Linked DNA regions of Homo sapiens: all the other regions are linked to region 3. Evidence: promoter capture Hi-C in 16 types of primary human blood cells and fetal thymus (Javierre and others, 2016). All regions are on one chromosome and are shown on one strand. Each heading gives the region's core, a stretch centred on a gene start or on the middle of the fragment in contact. The rest is flanking DNA. Distances are from core to core; before and after follow the strand shown. Region 1 overlaps PSME4 (proteasome activator subunit 4). Region 2 overlaps ASB3 (ankyrin repeat and SOCS box containing 3). Region 3 holds the start of CCDC88A (coiled-coil domain containing 88A).

Region 1 (4,632 bases), core at 1,624-4,123, 1.5 Mb after region 3:
GTGTGAGCCACCACACCAGCCTTTTTTTTTTTGAGATAGAGTCTTGCTCTGTTGTCCAGGTTGGAATACAGTGGCACAGTCTTGGTTCACTGCTCCCTTCATCTCCTGGGCTCAAGTGATCCTCCCACTTCAGCTCCCGAATAGCTGGGACTATAGGCGTGGGTCACCATGCCCAGCTAATTTTTGTATTTTTTGTGGAGATAGGATTTCGCTTTGTTGCCTAGGCTGGTCTCAATTTCCCGAGCTCAGGCGATCTGCCTGTCTCCACATCCAAAAGTGCTGGGATTACTGGCAGGCATGAACCACCACGCCCAGCCAAAGCTTAGGTTACTTTTTAGTTTTCCTGTGAGAATGTCTAACTTAGTCCTAATAGGGTATGTGGGATGGTCTTAAAATCTCATTGTTCAGGGAAGTGGCTACTAAATGGGAAAACCTGTCTTCTGTGCTATATTCTTATATTAGAGATTGACAAAAAATAAAAAGCCAAGTCCTAAGCATAAAAGTAAATGATCTACCTAATGGTATCCACTTTGGGGATGCCATGTACCTTTGGGCCTTTAGCAATATAGGGTTACTAAATATCTTTTTTTTGGAAACGAAGTTTCACTCGTTGCCCAGGCTGGAGTGCGGTGGCACAATCTCAGCTCACTGCAACCTCTGCCTCCCAGGTTCAAGTGATTCTCCAGTCTCAGCCTCCCGAGTAGCTGGGATTACAGGCGTGTGCCACCATGCCCGGCTAATTTTTGTATTTTTAGTAGAGACAGGGTTTCACCATCTTGGCTGGGCTGGTCTTGAACTCCTGACCTTGTGATCCACCCGCCTCTGCCTCCCAAAGTGCTGGGATCACAGGCGTGAGCCACTGCGCCTGGCCACTAAATATCTTATACTTACTATAAACTTTACAGTTTCAAAGGATGGATATAATAAAGTAATTGTGGGTAATTAAGGATAAATTTTTTTCTTATTTCGTACTATTGAAAACAGTTTGAATTTTTAACAGTTTTGTCAGATATCACAGGTTGTTGAATTAATCTTAAAATAGGACCTATTTTGCTCTTGGAACCTTTAGATAATGTTTTAAGAGAAATATTTGTGGTATAGTTTATACTCATAATTCTACCTTTATAGATGTGGAAGTTGGATTATGTCTTTCCAGAGTCACAGGAATTTTGGACCCTTGCCTTTAATCCTGAAATCATCATTAATTTTTCCTTTTGCAGTCCATTCTCTAAATAATCTTTTAGGTCTAACCAGCTATCACAGGATGCAAAAAACTAACATCTAAAAAACAGGGTTACTCAAGGTAGAGGAGTCATTTTTCATCTCAAAATATTCCTTTATTTTGTGTCCCCTTTCCTCTGATAGATTTATTACGTCATTTTTAGTTAAATCATCCTTAGGATCTCAGCTTTTACTAACTTTTCGCTCAAAGAAATTCATACTTAAGGTCTAATAGTGAGACCATTTCATTGATATGTGAAAGGATGTGTTGCTTATGCAATGAGGGGCAGGGCTAGCTAACCTCTCTTGGCACCTCCAGGAAACTACCCAGCTCTGCTGGGGGAGCTGCACACAGAAAAGGAAACAGTTACTACTCCACGGTGAGTAACCCTGTTTTCTCCTTATTTCACCTTCTGACTGTTTTCATTTATTTTTAAAAGCTTATGTGTCAGACTTGGAAGTAGTTCCTGTTTTCAGAGTTAATTTAAAATCTAGCAACATATAAGATTTCTCTTTATTTAGTGACCCTTTGTTCACTGGCAGGATAAGAGCCAGGTTTTCATTTGTGTTTATAGTTATTATTGCTACCTAGGATTGAATTGGATAATAGAACACAAAAATAGGCCTAACTGTCTCTTGTGAGACATTTGTACTTTGAAGGGAAAAAATCTATTAGTGGCTTGGTTTTACATCTTTTATGTTTATTTTTATTTGGAAGGGGAAGGGTTATTGGGAAGATAGGATGTTCTTTCACTTATACACAGGAAGAATTTTATATTATTGTTTACAGCTGTTTCATGACAATTCGCCCAGCCTTCATTTACATATGTGATTTGTATTATATATTTTGTTTTTGTGTTATTAGTTATTTCTTTTTCAGCATCCCTTCTTTCCTACCAGTGATTCTTTTCATAGTCCTGCTCTAATCATATCTAAAGAAGATTCCCATCTAGTGGTACGAATACTATAGTTGTTGAAAATTCATAGGTCCTTTTTTAGTGGTACAAATATTTTAATACATTTTACTATATGTTAGGTGGCCTGGTACTATCTAGAAGCTATGAAGCAGATTTAATTTTATTATTATTACATAGAGGGTGTTATTTACAGTATGTTGTGCTGGAATTATTTTTTTGAATTGTATTGTTCCTTAGGTTAAATGATACTATGGTTTGTAAAATGAACTAGTGAATGAGTAGGATGGATTTCACATGAGGAAGGGAGAGGTAGTGATGGAATTTGATTTGACTTACATATTGTTAACATAGCTTTTAGTCAGAATATAGATCTGTAAGACAGTGCCTTAAGACTATTCACTTAAGATTATGTGCATAGCTAAAAGCTACCAGAACAGTTTAATATATCACAGATTACATCCTGGGCACAATGAGATCTATAATGTCACAAAGAGATACAGTCATGATATTTTACTTGGGTAATGGGTAGAGATTTCTTTTAGTAAAAAATCTTCTAAAGGTCAGAAGAGGTAGGATACTATGGCTCATGCCTGTAATCCCAGTGCTTTGGGAGGTGGAGGTAGGAGGATTGCTTGGGGCCAGGGATTTGAGACCAGCTTGGGCACCATAGCGAGACCCTGTCTCTACCAAAAAGTAAATAAACAAAATTAGCTGGCGAGGTGGTGTGCACCTGTAGTACCAGCTACTCAAGAGCCTGAGGTGTATGTGAGTCCACTTGAGCCAGGAAGGTTGGGGCTGCAGTGAGCCATGATCGTACCATTGCACTGCAGCCTGGGTGGCAGAGGGAGATCCTATCTTGAAAAATAAATAAATAAATAGCTACACTTGCTGAGAAGCATTTATTGTAAATCATGTTAATCCAGTTAATTTGTGGTAGGCAAGAAGAGATCAAATTATGGTGGATAAGAATAAACAAAAGCTGTAATGTATACTACCCAGATATGTCCTATATATAGTCTTCCCTTGGTGAAGTTAGGGGATTGGACCTACAGCATACCAAAATACATTCATACTCAAGTGCCACAGTAGGCCCTGTAGAGCTCACATACAGGAAAAGTCAGCCCTCCATATGTGTAGATTTCTCATCTGGCTAATACATTTAGTTGAAAAAAAAATCTGCGTGTAAGTAGACCCACACCTGTGTTGTTCAAGGGTCACCTCTGTGTAGGAGATATGGAAGCTGTATTTTAATCCAAGTTTTAAAAGTCGAGGAAGAAGATAAGGCTTTTATTTAAATACATTACTTAATATTTTACAATCTTATACAGGATTTTTTAAAGTAGTCAGCATAAATGATTATTTTTCAAATTCCCTGATAAGAAAACAATTCAAAGTGTCACATGGATTTTAAGAAATTTGGTGTCAGGACTCTTAGATGAAACTTGTTTGAAAAACTTTAAATTCCCAAATGACAGGCTTTTTAGATATAGTAAAAACTATGGAGAATAATTGGTTATAAAGAATGCTTTTTTTAATTTGTATAATATGACAGTAACTAAAGTGACAGTAATTAAAATTCATGCTTGATTTAATATTATATGGCATTAGATACAGACTGCATAAGCTGCAGACTGTATATTTCTACTTCAGAAAACTAAGTGTTTATGGCAGCAGTGGGGAGACACATACTCTAATAGGATGGCTCATAGCAAGCACTTCCCCTGCTCTAACAGTGGGCGGGGGGAGGGTGGGAACTCTCTTGTGCTTTATTCTTGTTACTCTTGAGTACAGGCCTTTTCTCTTTGGTGAAATCTAATTTCAGTAAAGACATAACGTTCATGTAAAGGAATCTGATTTTATTTTTTACTAACAGATTTTGGATACATACATATTTTTGATCATGCAAAAATATTTAAGATGCTCAGGTTTGCCAGTGGTTGAAGCTTTATAGAAGGAAAACAAAATTTTAAGAGGAATTTGGTCTTGAAAGTCTGAAAAAGCAAATTAACGTTTGATACTATTAATATACAATATTAATAAGCTTTGAAGTAAGTTAGTGAAAAAGAAGCCATTCTTTGTTTATACTCTATGGGCTTGGTTTTGAAACTTGAGAAGGTATTGTTGCTATCCTCTGTACTGGGTTATGGTGAGAAACATAGTTAAATAACTGACATTTTAGAAATATGTTTTTACCTATTACTTAGATAAATACCTGAATTCATAACTGTCAAATATTAAGGTAGAGATAACCCATTTAATTCAGCTACTTTTTGAGGGTATACAATATAGCTGGGGATGTGTTGATTTAAAAATAGTATTTTCTTCATGGCAAGTCTTGTGCAGTTCATTGGTGATTAGTAATAATAATAAGATTGCTGTTTATTAACTCTGTATATGCTTGCCTGATTTGTGCCTTTTTTTCCTTTTAGAATGTATCTCTTTGATTAATAAAAGCTTTGAATTAAATCTCATATTTTGAAATAAAGTATTGAAA
Region 2 (4,101 bases), core at 1,375-3,874, 1.7 Mb after region 3:
AGGAGCAGAAGCCTACTCCTCAAACATTTCCAGAGGAGGAAAGATAGAACACTTAAAAGTCCCTTCATGTTTTTAGTGGGAACCTTCCAAGGAATTCCAATCTGCCAAACAGAGAAACTTCCTGCTTTAGGCACCAGCAGAGACTGTGGCATGGCAGTCACTTTCTGTATTGTGGGCCCTTCTTCGTCAGTCATGTGAGAGATACTAGACAGGCCCACCGTGATTTGCTGACCTCTAGGAGTGAAGTGTTGTTTTATTGACTATAGTATTATCCTTCTACCTTGTTTTGTAGACTGGTCAAACAAATGGATTTTACAGAGGCTTACGCGGACACGTGCTCTACAGTTGGACTTGCTGCCAGGGAAGGCAATGTTAAAGTCTTAAGGAAACTGCTCAAAAAGGGCCGAAGTGTCGATGTTGCTGATAACAGGGGATGGATGCCAATTCATGAAGCAGCTTATCACAACTCTGTAGAATGTTTGCAAATGTTAATTAATGCAGGTAAAGTAAATTCAAGGTATGGAGGCTTTGCCTACAAGCTGGATTAATAAAACATAAAAAAGTATAATACATAACTTATTAACAGTAGTATTTGTTTCCCTTTCTATAGTCATAAAATAACTGCCTGAATTTATTTATTAAGGATAGTAAGATTGCCTGCCTTGGATTCAATTAGTATGATACTCTAGTTGGACATCTTATACGGAAGTGCCTCTGTCTGGCCTCTTTTTATTGACTGAGCTAGGTGATATGGGAGAAGTAGTCTGCTGTTTGAATTTAAGCATTTGGTAGTTACTGGTCATGTTTATTCTTTCTTCCTTTACCAAACAGAAAGAGCAATTGTACTGAAATTGAGGATGTGTTTTGATTGAATTAGTCTTTTTCTTTTTAAACACTTTTTAATACTTTTGGGAATTTTTACAACTACTTAGCATGAAACAAGATGCCTGCCTTCCTGATGCTTTTTCTTGTCAGAGGAAACAGATGACAAATATCTAAATAATTAAACAAGATAATTTAAAAAGGTAAAAGTGTTATGAAGAAAATAAAACAAAGTAGAGATAATAAAACAGATGGGATAGACAAAAATGGTGTGCTACTGCACATCTCTTTACATCTCTGCATTCAGTGACTTCATGCTTGGGATCGGCCATGGTAGGAGTATTTACACCACAGAAACAAGCCAGTGCTACAAACCAGTGCTATAAACTGGGCTTTCTTCCCTCTGGACAGCTAGTTATTAAATGTTAACCAGCACACTACTGAGTGAAGGTCATTGACTAAAGGCGAGATTCTGACATTTAGTATAGAGGGGGTAGGAAGAAAACAAATGGTGACTGAGCATTGCTTTGTGATAGTCATTGTGCCACATGCTCAATTTATCTTCTTTATCTAATATTTATAAAAATGGTGTTAGAGGCAGTATTATCCTCATTTTATTGGTGAAAAGACCAAGGCTCAGAGAAGTTGACTTGTAAAAGGTTACATAATAAACTAGGGTATTTGATTTGAACCCATTTCTCTGACTCTAAAGCCCTTTTTTTTCCTCTCATACCAAGCTTCTAACATTTAATTGAATGAATTTATAGCATTCAGTTAAAATGAGGTTGACTATAATACTCTGCATTGTAACACTCAGAACCAATTTCATTTCATTGATCGTGGAAATTCAGACCCTCTTTCCTGCATACTTGTCATCACCAGGTATAGGTCCTTAAAATATAAACTTCTGGGTCCATAGCCCATCAGAACTACTAATTTGTTACCTGCTGGACGGGAAAGGAAATAATCTTTACATTGTTTTTGGTAGTGGTAGGTGTTTTTTTTGTTGTTGTTGTTTTGTTTTTTTCTTTTTTTTGTCTTAACAGGTAAGAGATGGTAAGGCTAAACTTCCTAAATCATAATGCAGGAAATTTGTCATGATTGTTTTTAAAATCACATGTTCAAGTGTCTAGTGTCTATTATAGTTGAGTGTTTGAAGATAGTGGAAAAATAGATGTTATTCCTCTAATTTCAAACGCTTAAGATATGTTTTCAGAATCTGTTTGAAGTTAACTATAAAGCTTGAGTTCCCAAACTATTTTTAGTAACAAAGACATGAGTTTGAATATCCTTTTCTAGGCAAAAAGCTCATTTCCAATATACTGTTACATCTCTTCTTCATATCGGAATAGTGTAGTTTATGTTACAGATTTTTTTCATCTGCTGAGTAAACTTGGGCATGCTTTTGACTAAAGGCATTTGAACTGGCTGTTAAATTCATCTCTACAGTTGTCCTGCCATATCCACAGGGAATTGGTCCCAAAATGTCCACGGACACCAAAATTCATGGATGCTCCTCAAGTTCGGCAGTCTGCCCTGAAGATAGGAAAACGTCCTATACACACATACAAAAGGTCAGCCGTCTGTATCTGTGGGTTCCACATCCTACAAATGCTATTATCTTCCATCCCAGTTGGTTGAATCTGCAGGTGCAAAACCCGTGGATACAGAAGCCCGACTGTATTTCCTTTTTTTCTGAGACAGAGTCTTGCTCTGTTGCCCAGGTGGGAGTGCAGTGGTGCGACCTCAGCTCACCACCACCTCCACCTCCCAGATTCAAGCGGTTCTCCTGCCTCAGTCTCCCAAGTAGCTGGGACTACAGGTGCACACCACCAATGCCTGGCTAACTGTCTCACTTTGTTGCCGAGGCTGGTCTCAAACCCTTGGCTCAAGTGATCCTCCTGCCTTGGCTTCCCAAAGTGCTGGGATTACAGGTGTGATGCATCACACCTGCTGTCTTTTATTATATAATTTTCCTACCTCCCTGAGGTTTATCTAATATTAATACACTGTCAGAGATTCCTAAAAGATAATTAGTGCACCCAAATAAGAAGGTATGTAGGCCTACACAAATAAAATGGAAATATCTAAAATGATTAGAAGAGTTTTGCTTCACTGTCTCTTCAATTTAGATTTGGAATCCATTCTGAGTACCATACATGGTCTTCTGACTCAAGTTGGAGAAGAGCATTCAAGTGTGGTGTAGATTACATAGAAGTTTAATATGCATACATATTTTTGTATTTCTTATGTATCTCATTTTAGTTTTCTGTTTAACATATTAGCACAGATAACAAATTTGCTTGTCTTCTCTCCTGTATTGGAGGTTGGGTGTAATGGGTGTTGAGATTTTATGAAGCTTGTCATCCTGGAGGGCAGTAATGATCTTCACTGACAATTAATGCCATTCAATAATAAGTCATTTGCTGACTAAAAGTCCCTTAAAAATCTTATAATTATTAAGCATATAGCTAAAAAATACTTTTATTTGGCTAATAAATGATCTAGCTCATAGTATTTTTTATTAGTTCATGTTAAATAAGAAAATACGCACTAATACTGGGCACAGTAACAGATGCAGAAGTTCCTTAGACAAATAAATCATTGTAGCACAGCGATTAAGAGTTACGGTCAGATGGACCTGAATTCTAGTGACTCTACCATTTTATTGGTGTGACTTTGGACAGGTTTTTTAACCTCTAAGTGGTTTAGTTTTTTCATCTGTTAGATAGAAATATTCCATTGTTCCAGCTCAGGCCAGAAACTCTGGGCCATCATTAATTCCTTTCTTTTTCTCATATTTCTCATCTAGTCAGTCAGCAAATTTGTGTATGTGTATGTCTATATTTGTGTGTATGTATACACACACACACACACACACACAGTTAGATCACTTCTCACTACCATTAATACCTTGTCTGCGTTGCTATAATAGCATCTTAACAGATCTTCTCTATCTGCCATTGCTCCTTCTGCATCCTATGACAGACCACCCTCAATATATTAGAGGGATCATTTTAAAATGCAACAGACCAAGTCACTCTTCTGCTCTCTTGAGTGAAAACACTTTTGTGTAGTATTTCATGGTAGAGATGTAATGTAATTTATGTAACCATTCTTCTATTGATAGATATTTTGTTTGTTTCCTAAAGTTTTGCTGTTATAACTAGTGATTCAGTGAACATCCTTATGTATATATCTTTGTCTACATGGTTAACCATTTCTGTAGGATGGAGTTTTAGAAGTGCAATTACTGTTTGATAAGTTAGAGTTTCCTGG
Region 3 (4,149 bases), core at 37-2,536:
CCTGCTTTACACGTGACGGAATCGAAGCACAAAGAGACTCAATAACGTGCGTAGGCTCACACAGCTGGTGCATATTGGAACCAGGCAGGAAGACTTCAGAGTCCAGGTTCTCAACTACCCAATTAAGAAATTCTGCTCTTTCTTAACTGTGTTATGACAAAAACATTTTTACTGCTAATTTAAAATATATACTCCGTGTAAATATTTATGTAATGTAAACATAGCACACATTATAAAACTATAATATTATCTTTTATCAAAAAAAGATTGCGTTCTATATGCCCATTTTACCCCGGGAAAAAGGTCTTTATTTTCCTTTGAAATGAGGAGTAGCATTTGATTTTGCCAGGGAACTTAAAATTATTTCAAGGTCCCAGTCGTACGTGGCATGGAGATTTATGACAAATATGTAATCTGTTTATTTGTCACCCAACTTGGATGACTTCTAAATGTTTCTTCTTTGTAGCTCTTGATTTTGCTTGGGTTTCCCCCGACCCATGCCCAAATAGTAAAAAACAAAACAAAACCAAAAAACAATGTCTGAGTCATGTTTGCTCCAGTCAGGGAATACCAACGTGCTGACAGACAGCTCTGGTTTTTAAAAAATCTTACTGTATGTCACTTGCAACTTTGAAGAACATTCATGCGTTAGTGGACTGCATTTGGAAGAAAACAAAAAGGAGAAAAAAACCCCCACCAAGTTGTGGCTCAAGTCCCTCTGCCATTTGCTGCAGTGAGTTTTCCTATTCCATTTTGCTGGGGAGAAGGCATGCTTTACAGAACACATCAAACTGTCCGAAAAAGGCTGTCTGCATCCCTCATGTTTATAAGAGAAGGATTTCTTTCCCCTTCCTTCACGTATCAAAGAAGTCACTCGGGGAGGAAATAAACCATAATTAGGCATGAGCGAGCGAGCAGACAGACCCCTTGCTCTGCCTTCCCTGTCCCCGCCCACCAGGCAACCGTCCTGGGCGCAACCGAGGAGCGGGTTGTCTCCGCAGCAGCTGCAGCGAGCGCGCGCCCACGCCCGAGCCCGCGCCCGCCGCCAGGATCTGGGCGGCGGCGAGGCTAGCCCGGGGGCGCGCTCGCTCGGGAGCGCGCTCATGCAGCGGTTTTCTTCTCCCACAATCCAGAGGCAGCTGCACGGGAGGGGCGGGGAGTCGGCGGAAGGATATCGGCGCGGAGGGAGCAGCGCGCTCCCTTTGACGGCGGCCCCCGGCATTGGCGGGCGGCGCTGGCGGGCGGCGAGGGGTGGGGTGTGATGCGGCACTGCGGTTCTGAGGCCGTTACTCCGGCTTCTCCATAGAGGGCGGAGAAGGCTGGAGCGCGGCGGTGATTTTGTGCCAGGGATTCCCAGAGACGCGCTGAAAGGCTGGCAGGGCTTAGGAAGCTGGGGGGTTAGGGACACACATTCAAGCCCCCACCCCCGGGAGGGGAAGGGGGCTGGAGGCGAGGCTTGAGGGCGGCGGAGGAATGGTGTCTGCTCGGGGGGAAGGGGCGAGCCCTGCCTGTTGGTACTGAGGGGCTGCGGGCAGTGGAGGCTCCGCGGGTCGAAAGCGGCTCCATGCCCATCGGTGGGTGGAACGTGTAGAGGTCGGAACGCCGAGGTCGAGTCTGGTGGCGCCTCGGTATCCTTAACGTGGTCTCTGTTTAACGTATTTCATTTAGCCCCCGTTGGGATTGATTCATTGGGAGCAGTTTCGCTGGTCTGGATCCTCCAGGAGCTGGACAACCTTGACGGGCTTTTTGTCTTGGGTTCCAGCCCCCTTTCCCTTCCTCCTCCTCCAGATGCCTTTTCTCTGCCCCTCCTCGCCCGGTACAGACATTTCCAGCGCAGGCTGCTGCTCGTGGTGTCCGTCGTCGAAGCCACTTCTTGGGATTTCGGCTCGTTTCACTCTGGGGTGTTTTTTGAGGAGGGAGAGTGCCCCCCTCCTCCACGATGGGATTTTTCTCCCTTGCCGAAATGGACTTTCATTGATTTCTACTTACTTCCACGTTTAGTGACCAATTCCCTAGGCGTATTTTTGTGGTAGTTCCTTTTTTCAAATACATACTCTGTAAAATGGAGAACGAAATTTTTACTCCCCTTCTGGAGCAGTTCATGACCAGCCCTTTGGTCACTTGGGTAAGTGGGGTGTCCTTTATTGTATATTTTGCTGAGTTATTTGTGGCTGCAGAGATGGAGGTGGGCGTTCATGTCGTGGTGATCCTTCTGTTTGTTCTAGGTTAAAACGTTTGGACCTCTGGCCGCAGGAAATGGGACCAACCTTGATGAATATGTGGCTTTGGTGGATGGGGTATTCTTGAACCAGGTCATGCTCCAAATGTAAGTTCTTCCTTCTTTCCTAGGTAACGTTTTCTTTGAGAAATAGCATATGGTGAACTTTGAGACACGATGTTTTAAGCCCCTAATTTGGTTCATTGGCCAGAAATATTCAGGTGGTTTAAGAATTGGATCTTGAAAGGAATGCTAATGTTATGGGCTCAGCCCATTATCACAACCTAGATATTTTACCTGTTAAAATTGTGAAACTTTAGTTTTTCATTCTGTCAACCATGTATTGTCACTTGTCTTCAGTACTGAAATCCAAGCCACATTGTGTATTCTTTGATAATTTGGTAAAATAAGAGAGAAAATGAGAATCTGGTTTCCTAAGAGAGGAAAAAAGACTTTACTGTGAAGTTATGTGCATTTGATGCAGAAATGTTTCTTATTAACCTTTATATCTAGAAATAAATGGCTCAAAATTTGAAACTCGTTAAGTAATAGCAGATTTCAGAAGAGAAAATTTCAAACAGTTCTGATTGGTGAGGACTCTTGCTGTAGTAAATAATTTAAATGCCTGTAATAACTAAAGCCTGATGAGATGATTTATTGTGTGAATTATTAGGTTGCTTAATATTTTAGGGATCATTTTAAGGTATTCTTACAGGTTTTGAAATGCAAATAACAAGTCTTGATAACAATTAGATAACGACTTATTGGGCAAATCTTTGTCTTTTGTGTTTATAATATTGGGTTTGTACTAAGTAGGAAAGTATGCTTTTGAGATGGGAATTGAATAGTGAAAGTATATTGGTAGCTGGATCAGTAAAATTAAAACTCAGCTTTTATCTAATTACAGCTATTGTAGCATACGTGTATTCTAAGTACGCTAATGTAGTTTATCAAACTGAATTTTTCAGTTGTGCTCAAAGTAATGTATACTTAGTCTTATTTCTCTTTAATAGAATCTGATGAGAAGAGGTAGTTTGGAACTTTTATATGTATGGGAAATTGGTGTGTTATCAATAAATAGTTGTTACTAGAGAATAAGTCTACCATTCTGCTCTGATAACCTTATCAATTTTGTATTTTATTGGTTTAGATTTTTATGTTTAAGAGGGTAGAAGTCACATCTATAAAAAATTGCTCTCGTGTTAACTTCTCTGTGTGCTCAAAGAGATTTGTGGGCTGTTTTTCATGTACATGTTGATCCTACAGGGAAGTATTATACTATTATACATTTTCAACCAGTGTTTTGTTTTCATAGGCACCCAAAGAAATATATATGTTATCTAAATATGTATATATTTATTTTTTTCCTTAAGAAAGGAAAAAAGAGCGTAGACATCAATTATTTCCAGGGTTAGTAAATGTATTTTTGACAGCTGTGTAATGGAATTATTTTTTATCCTCAAAATATCTGACTATTTCCTAAGCAAAATGGTAGGATAATAAACTGACTTCTCTTTTGGGGAACCTACATGACAGAAAGGGTAGCCATTACAGTAGATACTCAGAATTTGTTCCCCTGTGTCTCTTTATTGTGCTTATTTTTAGACGGAAGATTTTGAATTTGTGTGCTAAAAATGTGTGTTCACAAAAATAGGGAAATATATTACTTTAGTTTTCCACTTTAATGGTTTTTATTTGAATGATTCTTTTTCCAGAAAAATTTAGATTTTTTTTTTGCATCCTAAATACTTAGCTGAGGTGCTAAAAACAAATACGTTAATTTCCACTTCAAATGCAGTTTTATGCTTAAAAAATATATGTATATTTTGAAAATGACGGTATTCCAAAATAGTGTTTGTCAGGTTGCTGTTTTTCATGAGGACTAGCTCCTTTCCAAACCACAAATCTGCTTCTGTATTTTCAGTTCCACC

The links. The method cuts DNA at HindIII sites, captures the fragments that hold promoters and counts their contacts. A CHiCAGO score of 5 or more calls a contact.
Region 1: a fragment that was not itself captured here is called in contact with the fragment with the promoter of CCDC88A in region 3 in 1 of 17 cell types (monocytes); the score reaches 6.8 in monocytes.
Region 2: a contact is called between a fragment that was not itself captured here and the fragment with the promoter of CCDC88A in region 3, in 1 of 17 cell types (non-activated CD4 T cells). The highest score is 5.7, in non-activated CD4 T cells.

Annotation. Positions count from the first base shown.
Region 1 is chr2:53,910,840-53,915,471 of GRCh38, reverse strand. The region is part of intron 20 of PSME4 (proteasome activator subunit 4); the gene reads left to right. Among named protein-coding and RNA genes, the nearest start is that of GPR75-ASB3, 53 kb to the right of the region's middle. The HindIII fragment of the contact is 2,420 bases long and covers 1,664-4,083 here.
Region 2 is chr2:53,761,777-53,765,877 of GRCh38, reverse strand. ASB3 (ankyrin repeat and SOCS box containing 3) reads left to right here. Exons shown (of 10, transcript NM_016115.5): 2 at 293-501. The coding sequence starts at 306. It overlaps GPR75-ASB3 (GPR75-ASB3 readthrough), which reads left to right. Exons shown (of 10, transcript NM_001164165.2): 2 at 293-501. Among named protein-coding and RNA genes, the nearest start is that of CHAC2, 4.0 kb to the left of the region's middle. The HindIII fragment of the contact is 1,118 bases long and covers 2,066-3,183 here.
Region 3 is chr2:55,416,993-55,421,141 of GRCh38, reverse strand. It overlaps CCDC88A (coiled-coil domain containing 88A), which reads left to right and starts at 1,286. Exons shown (of 33, transcript NM_001365480.1): 1 at 1,286-2,125; 2 at 2,226-2,326. The coding sequence starts at 2,063. RefSeq lists silencers at 886-1,175, 1,236-1,285, 1,316-1,385. The HindIII fragment of the contact is 14,096 bases long and covers 1-4,149 here.